2 separate regions of the Homo sapiens genome follow, and region 2 is linked to region 1. The links are contacts of gene promoters, found by promoter capture Hi-C in blood cells and fetal thymus (Javierre and others, 2016). All regions are on one chromosome and are shown on one strand. The core of a region is centred on a gene start or on the middle of the fragment in contact, and the rest is flanking DNA. Distances in the headings are between cores, read along the strand shown.

What was found. The method cuts DNA at HindIII sites, captures the fragments that hold promoters and counts their contacts. A CHiCAGO score of 5 or more calls a contact.
Region 2: a contact is called between a fragment that was not itself captured here and the fragment with the promoter of CHRNA10 in region 1, in 2 of 17 cell types (M2 macrophages and M1 macrophages). The highest score is 5.6, in M2 macrophages.

The regions. Positions count from the first base shown.
Region 1 is chr11:3,669,695-3,672,721 of GRCh38, reverse strand. CHRNA10 (cholinergic receptor nicotinic alpha 10 subunit) reads left to right here and starts at 1,338. Exons shown (of 5, transcript NM_020402.4): 1 at 1,338-1,470; 2 at 2,781-2,926. The coding sequence starts at 1,410. The HindIII fragment of the contact is 7,798 bases long and covers 1-3,027 here.
Region 2 is chr11:3,817,840-3,820,842 of GRCh38, reverse strand. The region is part of intron 3 of PGAP2 (post-GPI attachment to proteins 2); the gene reads right to left. Among named protein-coding and RNA genes, the nearest start is that of PGAP2, 11 kb to the right of the region's middle. RefSeq lists a silencer at 693-884. The HindIII fragment of the contact is 1,508 bases long and covers 768-2,275 here.

The DNA.
Region 1 (3,027 bases), core at 89-2,588:
TGCCAGGGAAGTATGTGCTGCTGTTGGTCAGGCAACTGGTCAGCTTGAACAAAAATAATCAAAACTCTGTGCATGATAAATACCTGTGACCTGAGGATAGCCTGGCTACCTTACTGGGACCACAGTGTAAATATTGTTGATGACCTGCTGTACCTTAGGCACCGTGCTAGACAGTGCCTTGCACTATCAGGTTATCTCATTTAAATCCTTGCAGTTTTCAAGATGAGTACTGTTAATCCCATTACCAGATTGAGAGAACAGAAACCCAGAGAGTTTAAATATCTTACCCAAGTGAGAGCGCTCATAAGACAGGGCCGAAAGTGACTGAATGCTTGCCCTCTTCTCCCACACTGCCCACAGTGTTTGGGCAAGGTGAAAAAACAGGCTCAGATGGGAATGACTGCAGGGAGTCTGAGGAGAGGATGTGGGCTCCATCTTCTGCTCCACTGGGTCATCTGGAGTGGCCTGAGGCTCAGCACTACTCCCACCAGGAGGGAAGGGCTTGCTTGACCCAAAGTGCCTAGCCTGGAGTGTCTAGTCCCGCACTGCAAGGAGAGCTGCAGGTCTAAGGCAAACCTCCACCTCCAGAATTCAGGCAATGGTGGCTAAGATGAGAGGACAGTTATCCATCCACTGACCCTGGCCCCTCACACTCTTAAGCCCTGGTCTTCCACATACCCTGACCCAGCATACCTGTACTCTCCAACACCCGAGGATGGGCCTGAGCTGAGTCTGTGTGCTGCTTTACAGAGTTTGAATAATTCAAGCCCCAGAGGCCCGAGGTATCAGTTTCCGTTGCTCTGTTGTCATAGGCACGGTGTAATTAAGCTAATGAAAGGGCAGAGAGGGAGGGGCTGTGGTCCTGTGCCTCGGACGACTCTGGGCTGATCAAGGGAGGAGTCCCTGGTCCCTGTTCTGCTGAGAGAGCAGCAGGCCCATCTAGAGTCCAGGTGTGGGGAATGGAAGAAGGAAGGAATGAGGGATGAAACAGAAGTAGGAGAAAGGGAGAGAGAGTGGAAAGAGGCAGGCAGGGGATGATCAGAGTCAGGGAGGCAGAGAGACCAAGAAAGTTACAGACGGAAAGAGAAGGAAGCAGAAACAGAGTGAAAGACAAAGCAGGTGGGGAGCATAGGAAAGGGCAGAGGCAGAGGCCAGAAGAGGCAAGGACCAGCAGAGAAGAAGAAAGACCAAGTACTAAAATCCAGGGGCAGGCACAAATTGGAGGGTCAGAAGACTGGAGGGGCTGCAGGGCTCGCTGGAGGGTGGCTGGACCCACCAGAGATCTGTCTTACTTCTGACTTCTAGGTACTGTCCACACCATCCTTGCCAGCTGGGCCTAATTTTGCCCTAGGTCTGGCCAGGAGGCCTCACATCCAGAGACCTGCCCCCGCTCTTGCAGTGCCAGGGCCATGGGGCTCCGGAGCCACCACCTCAGCCTGGGCCTTCTGCTTCTGTTTCTACTCCCTGCAGGTATGAAGCTCAGTACACCAGCCCTGGCCTCTCCTGGTGGTGCTACTATTCCTGTTCTCCCAAAATCCCTTTCCATGTAGTCTCTCTTGTGTTTCTCCTCAGTACCTGTTCTGAGAACAAGCTCTCTATTTGGGGAGTGTGGAGGAGAGGGGTGCTGAAGTGCGTGAGAGGAGACTTGCCTGGCTAGGGTGGAAACAGTGAGCGGGGAGCTTCCAGAGACAGGGCTGGGAAAATCAGAGGGGCCAGATGTTGAAGGGCCTGCCGGCCAGGCCAGGTCTTTCTCCTGCAGATGACGGGGAGCACTGAAAGGTTTCAGCAGCATACTAGCCTGGTCAGATGTGCATGCTTAAAAGCGTGGTCCTGGGGCATGGGAGGGGTAGAAGAAGGTGAGCCTTTGGGGAAAGGGAGACAGTGAAGGGAGGGCCCTGACCTGGAGGGGAGAGGGTAGACTCAAGACGATGTTTCGCAAAATCTGGAGGATTTGAATGATCTGACAGGATCTGGAGATTAACTGGATTCCCCGAGGAGGAGGCAGCAGAGGGAGAAGGGAGGGATAATTCCCAGATTTCCAACTAAGGTCACTGTTGAAGCTGAGGGCATGCTATTTGCTGAGATAGGGAACATGGGATAGGAAGCAGGTTTCAGAGCATGGAGGGAGGAAGCGAGTTCATATTTTGGACCCTCAGAGTTGAAGGTGCCTGTGGGAAACTCAGGAGTGGACTGTACTCTATTGGGGTCTGGAGCTCAGGAGAAAAATCTGGGATGAAGAAAAAGATGGGAGCCAAGGACAGGATTCATGGGAACAATGTTTAGGTCAGGGATTGAGGAAAATTTGTGTCAGTAAAGCCTGGGGAAGTGTGTTTTCAGAGTGAGGGAGTGTTCCATCGCATCAGAAGTTTTGAAGAAACCAGCTCGAGATGGAGAAGTGGAAACAGGTTTGAGAGATACTGGAGGGGGCAGAGCAGTGGGGTTTAGAATCCCTGGGTGAAAGTCTGGACTCTTGTGGCTTATTTGGGCCCCTCTAGCATTTGTGGAGAGGCAGGCAGACTCCAGGTCCTTGAAAAGGGGAGGGTGGAGGAGAAATTTGTCAGCCTGGCGCCAGAAGATAGTACCAGTTCACTCCATGGCCTTTACCTCATGTGTCCCTGCAGGCAGGCCAGGGAGGAACTAGAGCCACAGCTAGAGCAAGAGAAGGCAGACACCAGGAGGACACTCATAAGGACAGGGCCCCAGCCCTGGGAGTGGAGGGTGTGAGCAGAGGCCCTGGGACTAGGGCCTGGGATGGACAACCCTCCTTACTGACCCTCCAGAGTGCCTGGGAGCTGAGGGCCGGCTGGCTCTCAAGCTGTTCCGTGACCTCTTTGCCAACTACACAAGTGCCCTGAGACCTGTGGCAGACACAGACCAGACTCTGAATGTGACCCTGGAGGTGACACTGTCCCAGATCATCGACATGGTGCGTTGTGGTGGTGGTACAGCTGTGGAGTCTTACCTGTCACAGTGTCAAGAAATGAAGGGGTGAGAGACTGGGATTATTCTCCATGGAATTTCTTTTCT
Region 2 (3,003 bases), core at 272-2,771, 150 kb before region 1:
CTTTATTTATTTATTTATTTGAGACAGGGTCTCGCTCTGTCACCCAGGCTGGAGTACAGTGGCATAATCTTGGCTCATTGCAACCTCCGCCTCCCAGGTTCAAGTGATTCTCGTGCTTCAGCCTGCTGAGTAGCTGGGACTAGAGGTGCCACCACACGCAGCTAATTTTTCTTTTTTTTTTTGAGATGGAGTTTCACTCTTGTTGCCTAGGCTGGAGTGCAATGGTGCGGTCTCAACTCATTGCAAACTCCACCTCCCAGGTTCAAGCAATTCTCCTGCCTCAGTCTCCCGAGTAGCTGGGATTACAGACGCCTGGCCTCTAATTTTTGTATTTTTAGTAGAGATGGGGTTTCACCATGTTGGCCAGGCTGGTCTTGAACTCCTGACCTTAAGTGATTCACCTGCCAAAGTGCTGGGATTACAGGCGTGAGCCAACATGCCAAGCCATATGAATTCTAAATATAACGTGTATAAAACATCTGCAGTATCTGGCATGCAGTTAAGTACAATAAGTGATGGCTTTCAGAAGACAAAATTTCCTGTAAAGAATGCAAAAACGCTGTGAGCTACATGGCCACAGAGCATGGGAAGGTCTGCTTATGGGAGAGACGCAGGAACCTCCAAGTCTCCTTACTTGATTTTTCTGCCTTGCTGTTACTCTGAGTTGAGTTAGTCAGAGCATTGCCTCTGCTTCCTGGAATATTCAATCTGAAAACTACTCCCCAGTCTCAGCTACTTTAAGGAAAACAGGACCACCATCTAAAGCTTGACTGGGAGAGCCTAAAGGATTCAAGGGCCCTGAACCCTGACCACTGTTGGGAACAGGTACTGGGGAGAAATGATACAGAGTTTGGGGAAGGCCTCAGGAGGAAGAGAGAGTTAGGGCATTGTGGCTGCTGGTCCTGTCTTCATGAGCTTCTCTCAGATTAGGGATGGGGGTGGGATTCTAAGAGCAGGGACTGTCTCTTCCATCATGTACACACACACGCACATATACACACAGACACATACACACAATCAGGTACATGTACTCCTACCGCCAGCCCCATTCCAGCACACAAGTTCCCCACTCATCGACTGCACCAGCAACAAGCAACATCAGGAGCTATGAGAAACTGGGTACACAGCTCACCCCAAACTTCCCCATGTGCCCAGAGCTAAGAGTACTGAGAGACGGGAGGATAAGCCCTTTCTGATAGGACAGTAGATCAGAAACTCATATGGTATAAAGCAGGGTTCCCCAAAATCCCCTTGCACGGCACCTCAGATTTCACCATAAGATTCATTCCTTTGGCCTCAGGTAAAAGTCCCCCCACATTATAGATGCCTTCTCTAGCTACCGTACTGTCCCCCGCCCCATGCCAACTGCACAAAAACTCCATTTGCTGTCAATCCCACTTTCTACACCTCTCTAGACTCCATCCCTCCTCTCTACGCTCACAGTCCGCATCTTGGCTCTGGTTCCCCCAGGAGCATGAGCTACTGCACCAGCCTCCTTATACCCTACTCTTGCCCCTGACCTTAAAGCTGTTCTCCACTCAGAAGCTAGAGTGGTCTTCTGAAGCACAAATCTCCAGCCTACACAACATGGCAAAACCCCATCTCTACAAAAAAAATATAAGAATTAGCCAGGCATGGTGGCATGCACCTGTAGTCCCAGCTACCCAAGGCTGAGGCTGAGGCGAGGAATCACCTGAGCCCAGGAGGTCAAGGCTGCAATGAGCCAAGATCAGGTCACTGTACTCCCGCCTGGGAGACAGAGTGAGATCCTGTCTCTAAATAAATAAATATGTAAAGCACAAATCTGATCATGTCCCTTTCCTGCCTAAAATCTTTCCAAAGCTCTTGATAAAAATTGCCCTCTGGATAATATCAAAAGTTGCCGGCCTGGCATTCACAAAGAGCCTTCTTTACCACAGAGCAACAATGTCCCCTCCTCCAAGAAGAAAGTGATCCCCAATGTCCAAGCTGCGTGAAGTGCCTCCTCTGAGCCCCACAGTCACTGTACTCTTTTTTTAATCATAATAGGAACCCCAGACCACTGTGTTGTGACAGTCTGTGTCTAAGGATTGATTCTTGTAACATTGAGATGTTAAGGGCAAGTCCATATCTAATTCCATGCCCCTAGCACAACAGAACCTTTATCCCTGGGCCCCCAGGAAAGGCCTAGTGGACTGATTGTGGGAGACAGAAGTCCATCCAGGTTTCTGGCTGGCAGATCCCTGAGTGGATACAGGTGGTGGGGCCTGGGGCTGCCAGTAGGAGAAACAAAGCTTGAGGATCCAGATCAGAGCTGAGGATGGATCCTCCAAGGTCAGTCCCCGAGTCTGGGCCAAAGCCACTTGTTACATCTCCCATCTTCTGGCCTCATTTTACCTCCTCAGTCCTGGCTTCCTTTCCAATCTGCCTCCTTCCTCTCATGATCTCTCCTGCCCATTCCAATCCCTTCTCTTCCCCTATCACCTCCCTCTAACCCCCAACTCCCTTGCACTGTTATTGTTTTTTTTTTTTTTTTTGGCACGATCTTGGCTCACTGCAACCTCTGCCTCCCGGGTTCAAGCAATTCTCTTGCCTCAAGCCTCCTGAGTAGCTGGGATTACAGGCACACATCACCATGCCCAGCTAATTTTTTTGTATTTTTTAGTAGAGACAGGGTTTTACCATGTTGGCCAGGCTGGTCTCAAACTCCTGACCTCAGGTGATCCTCCCACCTCGGCCTCTCAAAGTGCTGGGATTACAGGCATGAGCCACAGTGCACAGCCTGCTGTTTTTTTTTTTTTATTTTGTTTTGTTTTTGAGACAGGGTTTTACTCCTGTCACCCAGGCTGGAGTATAATGGTGTGAACTCAGCTCACTGAAATGTCCACCTCCCAGCCTCAAGCAATTCTCCTGCCTTAGCCTCCCAAGTAGCTGGGACTACAGGGGCATGCCAGGGCACCCAGCTAATTTTTTTGCATTTTTTGTACAGACGGGGTTTCACCATGTTGCCCAGGCTGGTCTCGA